Regions from separate parts of the Homo sapiens genome. Here regions 2 and 3 are each linked to region 1. Evidence: promoter capture Hi-C in 16 types of primary human blood cells and fetal thymus (Javierre and others, 2016). All regions are on one chromosome and are shown on one strand. Each heading gives the region's core, a stretch centred on a gene start or on the middle of the fragment in contact. The rest is flanking DNA. Distances are from core to core; before and after follow the strand shown.

Region 1 (2,700 bases), core at 72-2,571:
TAGTAATTCACTTCCAAACAAAATAAACCCCAAACTCAGAAAATCTAGCTCCTTTTAACAAAAAGTCTGGTAATGTTATTTTTCCTAAATTCTAAAGCTTATCAGAGAAGCCTGCCCCCTCACATAAACATTTTTTCATATACCTTTATGAAACCTTCTGAGATAACACTACTACAGAGGTGAATAATGAATTCATAGGCCCTAGCTGTAACTACGTCATTGTTTACTTGGTGACTTTTTTTTTAATCGGGGAGAGGGGTAAAATGGAGATGAGAGAAAATCAGTTTAAACTGTATTCAAATACATTTACACGATTAACACCACCAACTCAAGGAATTTCTTTTTCTTACAGACCTGTAGCACTTGTTGGTAGGAGAACAATGAAATGAACCCATAATTTGAACAAAGGCAACAGGCACCTGCAGCCTTTCAATCACTTAGCAAATATTTCCGCCGAGACAGGGCCGAATTCGGGGATCTGGGCGAGCAGCCGGTGTCACCTTTCTCGGTAAGCTGCAAATCTTGGGAAAACTAGGACCCTTCCCAGGGATCCTGGGCTGGGAGCGGTCTCCGGTTTTTAGACAAATCTCTCCTCCTACCACACGTGACCGAATGGCAATCAGCCGCCAAGAGAGACACCGCAACGCATCAGCCGCGGGATACAAAGGCTCGGCACTGCCGTCGCATCCTCGGGAGGATCGCGGAGCCTCCCGCGCTCGGCGTCTGCGGAGCCTGCGCAGGGAGCAGCTGCGAGGCGCGCCGCTCCCGGGCCCGCAGGGCGGTGCCGCGCTGCGCGGGGAGCAGGAGCGGGGAGCGCGCGCCGCCTGCCCTGAGCGCCTGCCCACCCAGCGCCGCCGGAGCAGGGGCGCCGCGCCGCACCGCACGCAGCCGAGCAGCGCCACAGCCGCCGCCGCCGTCGCAGCCGCAGTCGCCGCAGCTAGGCCCTCGGCCGTCGCAGGGAGCTCCGCAGCGACGTGGACCAAGGTGAGGAAGCCGAGGGCTCCCCCAGACCCTCGGCAGGCCCGAGGCCGGGCTACCCCGTCCCCGCCCAGGCCCAGGCCTTCCCTTTCCTCTCGGCTCCTTCCCCTTCCCACAGCTCCCCTGGGCCTCGCGCCGGCTGCAGGGCGCAGTGAGAGGCACTTACACCACGGCTCTGGAGATCATCCAGGACACCATCTTCACGGGGGCTTGGGCCCCACGTCCGGGGCGGGTGGGCGCAGGGCGCTGCGGACCAGGCCGCCAACGGCAGGCCGCGCGCTTCGCCGGCTCCTCGCGCTCCCCGGGGCCGCGCTGGCGCCCTCAGGAGCCGGGCCCGGTGTGTGCGCGCGGCGGCCTGGGCTGCGCAGAGGTCGGTCCCCCGCCCGTCCCCGCCCGCCCCCGCCCGCCGGCCCGGCAGCCTAGTCCGGACAGCACCCCGCCCCTGCGCTCCGCTGATAGGCGGTGGCGGCGGCGCGTTGGCCCGGGCCAGGGCTGGGGCCAGGCGGCCGGGCTCCAGGGCTGGGCTGGCGGGATCCTAGCCCGCGCTGGACGGCCTCGCTGCCGCGGCCTTGGCCCCTGCGCTCTAACCAACCTTACCCTCCTTAGCTCTTTGGGACGCCCACACTCGCGGCGAGAGTGGGGCAGGAGGCTGAGGAAGGGTACTGGAGGGTAGGGATTGGCAGTGCCTGTGTGAAAAGTGAGATATTCGCAGGAACTCGGTGTCCAATAAAACTCTCGACCAGGCCCTGGTTTTGGAGAGCCAAGACTTTGAGGTGTGCCTGGCCACATCCGGTATCCTCAGTGTTTACGGAGGCCCAGCACCAAAGGCGTCCTTATATTACCACATTTTAAAGGAATCGTCGAGAGGTTCTTGCACAGGCCTCCGTGTGTGCCACGAGTCTCGTGGTGCAATGCAGGGAGGGACAGAGGAGGATTTCATGTTTGCAGTAGTGGGTGCAGTGATACCACTGTTCTGGGCCTCTTAGGGCACCTTTTCATCAGAGCATCTGCAAAGACTGTTTACAGACACGAATCTCCATTATTTCCCTGAGGCCTGCCAGATGTTCAAAGTAAAGGCTGGGTCTAGGATTCCTGACCTGTCTTAAGATTTACAACTATATTACAGCTGTAAGATTTACAACTGTATTTTTTGGAGGTTGGGTTACTGCTTACACCTTGCTGTTCTTGCAAATATCATTTCAAGGGCAGACTTTTAAAACTGTTTTTTTTTTTTTTTTGTGACAGTACCAAATTGAGAAAATGATGTTAAAGTTTAGATATTTTTATTTTTTCCAGTTAAGACGATAGTAAAAGATAATTCTAGTATTCAGATGGTGCGAAGAATAAAAGATGAAATGTAGGCTTGGAGCCTTTAATTAAAGTCCTAGAAAATATGATGGCTTTTGTGACCATACTGTAATTTTGTCTTCTTGTTCCTCAGTTTCCCTGTGATAAAAAGGGGGTAATAATACTGTAGTCTGTCTCTTGCCTTTCAAGGGTGATATGAGGCACTGCTAAATAATATGTTTAGGAAATACTCTGACTTGCATGGAAGACAATCAAAGGACACAACAGATTATCCTAAATTATTTTCAGTTCTCAGTCAATAAATTGGGTAATATTTCATTATTTAAGAAACAAGCTCAGAAGCTACTTTCTACTCTTGGGTTAGGTTCTTTTCGCTTATTAATTCATGTCAAGACTTTTTATTTCAGGAATTTG
Region 2 (2,700 bases), core at 26-2,525, 710 kb after region 1:
TTTTTTATTGGGGACTAGAGCCACAGATGGCTGGGGGTGGAGGGGAGTTGGGAAAAGCTCATTCTGCTTTTTTGGAGGTAGTTCTTGAGTTCCATACTGTCAATGGGTTGCCACAGTTGGGCTGGCCTCTTCTTACAGTCTGTGGGCCTCAATTTCCCCACCTTTTGGACTTTGCCACAGCTCTACAGTGCTGAGACTCTCGGCCTTGGAAATGGACCTATGTGAGCGGGGGTGAGAAGGGAGTCCTGGCTGTATTTTCATTGTTCCACCTCCATTCTGCCTTTCCCCTCCCCAGATGGCATGATCAACATTGACATGACTGGAGAGAAGAGGTCGTTGGATCTCCCATATCCCAGCAGCTTTGCTCCCGTCTCTGCACCTAGAAACCAGACCTTCACTTACATGGGCAAGTTCTCCATTGACCCTCAGTACCCTGGTGCCAGCTGCTACCCAGAAGGCATAATCAATATTGTGAGTGCAGGCATCTTGCAAGGGGTCACTTCCCCAGCTTCAACCACAGCCTCATCCAGCGTCACCTCTGCCTCCCCCAACCCACTGGCCACAGGACCCCTGGGTGTGTGCACCATGTCCCAGACCCAGCCTGACCTGGACCACCTGTACTCTCCGCCACCGCCTCCTCCTCCTTATTCTGGCTGTGCAGGAGACCTCTACCAGGACCCTTCTGCGTTCCTGTCAGCAGCCACCACCTCCACCTCTTCCTCTCTGGCCTACCCACCACCTCCTTCCTATCCATCCCCCAAGCCAGCCACGGACCCAGGTCTCTTCCCAATGATCCCAGACTATCCTGGATTCTTTCCATCTCAGTGCCAGAGAGACCTACATGGTACAGCTGGCCCAGACCGTAAGCCCTTTCCCTGCCCACTGGACACCCTGCGGGTGCCCCCTCCACTCACTCCACTCTCTACAATCCGTAACTTTACCCTGGGGGGCCCCAGTGCTGGGGTGACCGGACCAGGGGCCAGTGGAGGCAGCGAGGGACCCCGGCTGCCTGGTAGCAGCTCAGCAGCAGCAGCAGCCGCCGCCGCCGCCGCCTATAACCCACACCACCTGCCACTGCGGCCCATTCTGAGGCCTCGCAAGTACCCCAACAGACCCAGCAAGACGCCGGTGCACGAGAGGCCCTACCCGTGCCCAGCAGAAGGCTGCGACCGGCGGTTCTCCCGCTCTGACGAGCTGACACGGCACATCCGAATCCACACTGGGCATAAGCCCTTCCAGTGTCGGATCTGCATGCGCAACTTCAGCCGCAGTGACCACCTCACCACCCATATCCGCACCCACACCGGTGAGAAGCCCTTCGCCTGTGACTACTGTGGCCGAAAGTTTGCCCGGAGTGATGAGAGGAAGCGCCACACCAAGATCCACCTGAGACAGAAAGAGCGGAAAAGCAGTGCCCCCTCTGCATCGGTGCCAGCCCCCTCTACAGCCTCCTGCTCTGGGGGCGTGCAGCCTGGGGGTACCCTGTGCAGCAGTAACAGCAGCAGTCTTGGCGGAGGGCCGCTCGCCCCTTGCTCCTCTCGGACCCGGACACCTTGAGATGAGACTCAGGCTGATACACCAGCTCCCAAAGGTCCCGGAGGCCCTTTGTCCACTGGAGCTGCACAACAAACACTACCACCCTTTCCTGTCCCTCTCTCCCTTTGTTGGGCAAAGGGCTTTGGTGGAGCTAGCACTGCCCCCTTTCCACCTAGAAGCAGGTTCTTCCTAAAACTTAGCCCATTCTAGTCTCTCTTAGGTGAGTTGACTATCAACCCAAGGCAAAGGGGAGGCTCAGAAGGAGGTGGTGTGGGGACCCCTGGCCAAGAGGGCTGAGGTCTGACCCTGCTTTAAAGGGTTGTTTGACTAGGTTTTGCTACCCCACTTCCCCTTATTTTGACCCATCACAGGTTTTTGACCCTGGATGTCAGAGTTGATCTAAGACGTTTTCTACAATAGGTTGGGAGATGCTGATCCCTTCAAGTGGGGACAGCAAAAAGACAAGCAAAACTGATGTGCACTTTATGGCTTGGGACTGATTTGGGGGACATTGTACAGTGAGTGAAGTATAGCCTTTATGCCACACTCTGTGGCCCTAAAATGGTGAATCAGAGCATATCTAGTTGTCTCAACCCTTGAAGCAATATGTATTATAAACTCAGAGAACAGAAGTGCAATGTGATGGGAGGAACATAGCAATATCTGCTCCTTTTCGAGTTGTTTGAGAAATGTAGGCTATTTTTTCAGTGTATATCCACTCAGATTTTGTGTATTTTTGATGTACACTGTTCTCTAAATTCTGAATCTTTGGGAAAAAATGTAAAGCATTTATGATCTCAGAGGTTAACTTATTTAAGGGGGATGTACATATATTCTCTGAAACTAGGATGCATGCAATTGTGTTGGAAGTGTCCTTGGTGCCTTGTGTGATGTAGACAATGTTACAAGGTCTGCATGTAAATGGGTTGCCTTATTATGGAGAAAAAAAATCACTCCCTGAGTTTAGTATGGCTGTATATTTCTGCCTATTAATATTTGGAATTTTTTTTAGAAAGTATATTTTTGTATGCTTTGTTTTGTGACTTAAAAGTGTTACCTTTGTAGTCAAATTTCAGATAAGAATGTACATAATGTTACCGGAGCTGATTTGTTTGGTCATTAGCTCTTAATAGTTGTGAAAAAATAAATCTATTCTAACGCAAA
Region 3 (2,700 bases), core at 150-2,649, 910 kb after region 1:
TCCCAGGTCTCTAGTGAGAACCACAGGAAAGATGTATAGGTAAGAAAGTCCCTGACACTTCAAACCATGAATTCAGCAAGTATTTTGGACTGTCATTCAACGTATCTTTTATAATTGCTTCAAATTATTTAGCTTTCTAACTTAATGATAATAGGAATAACCATCATTTGCTGAGCAACTAACTACTCTCCACTGCACACTGTAGCTGTTACACACATGATCTCTAATTCTCACATCTGCCATGGGAGGCAGGTACTATTATCCCTGTTTTGTGGATGAGTAAAGAGAAACTGGAAAAGATTAAGAGAATGAGTCCAAGTTGCACCCATTGTCATCATCCCTAGAGCCAGAGTTCAAATCCTGATCTGTCTGCCACGTGGCTTTCCTGGCCTCGCAATCTAGAGTGTAAGCTTAAACTAGCCTCTAAAGGTTAGTCTAAGCTTAAGGCCAGGAATCACCTCCTTGTTATCTGTTCTCTTACAGTATCTAGCCCATCACACTTCCTTATACCTAGCATATCCATATATATTTGTTGGTTTTTAATATTCTGCGAATTGAAGTGCTGACATTGCTTGATGATCTAGAAGCTAATTCATGACTCTAAAACTTTATGGTCCTCTCTATAGACTGCAATCTTTTGGCTCCAAGAGGTTAAGGAAACTAAACATATGAATAGTAGAAAGTGTCATATTCCTGGATAATAGAGTTATTTTAAAAAACAAACAAGGGATGCTGGTACAAATCTCAGAGTACTTAAGGCATCATCCAGAAAAAGAAAAAGAAAAAAAGAACACTTCCCCTGGCCTGGATATAGATGGTGGGTCTGACTGGGTTGGCATGTGATGCCCTGCCTGGCAAGACAGGACAAGAAATGAATCAACTGCCCAATGCGATGGTATGTGCTATTTCCAAGCTGCCTAGCTCATGAGTGCTGCACAATCCAGCAGCCCACTCTAATTTGTCACACCAAAGGCTGCCTTCTTAGTAAACAGTTGTCCACACTTCTGTTGGTTCTGAGTCACCGCTTAGTGTTCAAACTGAAATGCCAGTGCAGTCCTTGGACTACACCATGCAGTGTGAAACCAAGGGAGGCGGGCCAGGCAGGACAGCACTTCCTGTGGAAACTTCCGGGTCTTGCAAAGGAGCCAGAGCCTCCAACCAGTGTTCCGCAAGGGATGGTTGCAGAGCAGCCCCCTGGTCAGAGCTACCCCCTCCTCTCAGTGAACCCCCTCTCTTTATAGCTGAGGAAACTGGAGGTGAACTGGCTTTGTGACTTGTCCAAGATCCCACAAGTCTTTTTATGACCTGGCTTCTACCCTCTTCGATGTCATCCCCCACCTCATCCCACAAGCATCCTCTTCCCAGTCAGATGAAGTCATTTCAGCGACATTATTGAGTGTGCCACGTTATTTCACTTCTCTTGTCTTTGCGTGTATGTCCTGTCAACCTGGATGCCATTTCTACTCCTTCGTGGCTGGGGAATGACTCATCCTCCAAGACCCAACTCAAGCATCTCTTCCTTTCCGAAACCCTTTTTGACCAGTTGTTTCTCCTCCATCAAAGCAGATCTATCCATTCTGTGCTCTGTTCACATAACTGCTTATCAACCTGGAAGGCATCATATCTTAGAAATCTGTTTACTCCCCTAGGCCATGGGTAGTCAAGTGGCAGTTAGGATTGTGTTCAGCTGCAAGTAACCAAAAGCCCAGTTGATCAATATCTTAGACAAATTAGGGGACTAATTTTTTTTAGATAGCCAAGGTTGCCGTGATAACTCTATAATATGATTAATCATTAGGGCCCCTGTTTCCATGTAGATTTCTGCTCAGCTCTCTTTAATTTGTGGCTGTTTTCTTCATGCTTGTCACCCAGTGGTCACAAAATGACTGTTCTTTCTCTATATCCAACTTCCAGACTGGAAAAAGGGAAGTTAATAAGGTATTCACTAATGAAGCCTGCTCCTTCTACAGAGCTTTCCTGGAAGCTGCACTTAGTGACTCTTGCTTCTCTCTCTTTGGTCAGAATGGGACTGGATAGATATCCCTAGTGGCAAAGAGAATGGGAGATATATTTGATGACTTGAATGAATTGAAATTCCAAATACAATCAGGATTTGGATTGTTAGGAAGAAGGGGAGAATTGATATTGGGTAAGAAAGTAACTACCATATGTAGGGATTATGTTGCATTTTTCATTCTCTCTCTGGGGCTTAGCATAGGGCATGGCACATAGTAGGTACTCAATAAATAAATGTCCAAGAAAGAAAGGAAGCGACATTTTATAATTCCCTAGTCCACTGCTATTTGTACAGTATGACTCAGCACATCTTTGAGCTTTTAGACATGAAACGAAGCTTTCTGGGGGTGGGGAAGAACAGCAGGGAGGAGAGATTCCTCGGGGGAGTTTCCAGCCAGAGCTTACTTATTCCAGCTGCGACCACTCAGCTTAGCAATGCTTAGGAGCTAAGAGAAAGGGAAAAGAGTCCATTCTTGATGTGTACAGTTGAACCATCTCCCCCCGCCCCATCCCCAATTCAAAAAGAACATGTTGGTCACTACGTGACATTAGGAGCCTCGCTACATTCTTGGGACATCTCCTTCCCAGTCCCACACCCTATATTGAGACTCCTCAGCTAGGGAGTCAGGCCCAGCCTTGGGTCCTCTAAGGCCAGGTGCTATTTCTGTGTGTCATGTTTGTTTC

The links. Contacts are between HindIII fragments. The CHiCAGO score rates a contact against its expected background, and 5 or more counts as called.
Region 2: a contact is called between a fragment that was not itself captured here and the fragment with the promoter of REEP3 in region 1, in 3 of 17 cell types (fetal thymus, erythroblasts and neutrophils). The highest score is 7.3, in fetal thymus.
Region 3: a contact is called between a fragment that was not itself captured here and the fragment with the promoter of REEP3 in region 1, in 1 of 17 cell types (neutrophils). The highest score is 5.5, in neutrophils.

What each region holds. Positions count from the first base shown.
Region 1 is chr10:63,520,022-63,522,721 of GRCh38, reverse strand. It overlaps REEP3 (receptor accessory protein 3), which reads right to left and starts at 1,321. Exons shown (of 8, transcript NM_001001330.3): 1 at 1,145-1,321. The coding sequence starts at 1,176. It also overlaps a transcript of JMJD1C not described here. RefSeq lists a silencer at 636-1,685 and an enhancer at 2,076-2,125. The HindIII fragment of the contact is 3,716 bases long and covers 100-2,700 here.
Region 2 is chr10:62,812,064-62,814,763 of GRCh38, reverse strand. EGR2 (early growth response 2) reads left to right here. Exons shown (of 2, transcript NM_000399.5): 2 at 296-2,700. The coding sequence ends at 1,557. Among named protein-coding and RNA genes, the nearest start is that of EGR2, 3.0 kb to the left of the region's middle. The HindIII fragment of the contact is 7,552 bases long and covers 1-2,700 here.
Region 3 is chr10:62,613,285-62,615,984 of GRCh38, reverse strand. No RefSeq gene overlaps it. Among named protein-coding and RNA genes, the nearest start is that of ADO, 190 kb to the left of the region's middle. The HindIII fragment of the contact is 1,913 bases long and covers 443-2,355 here.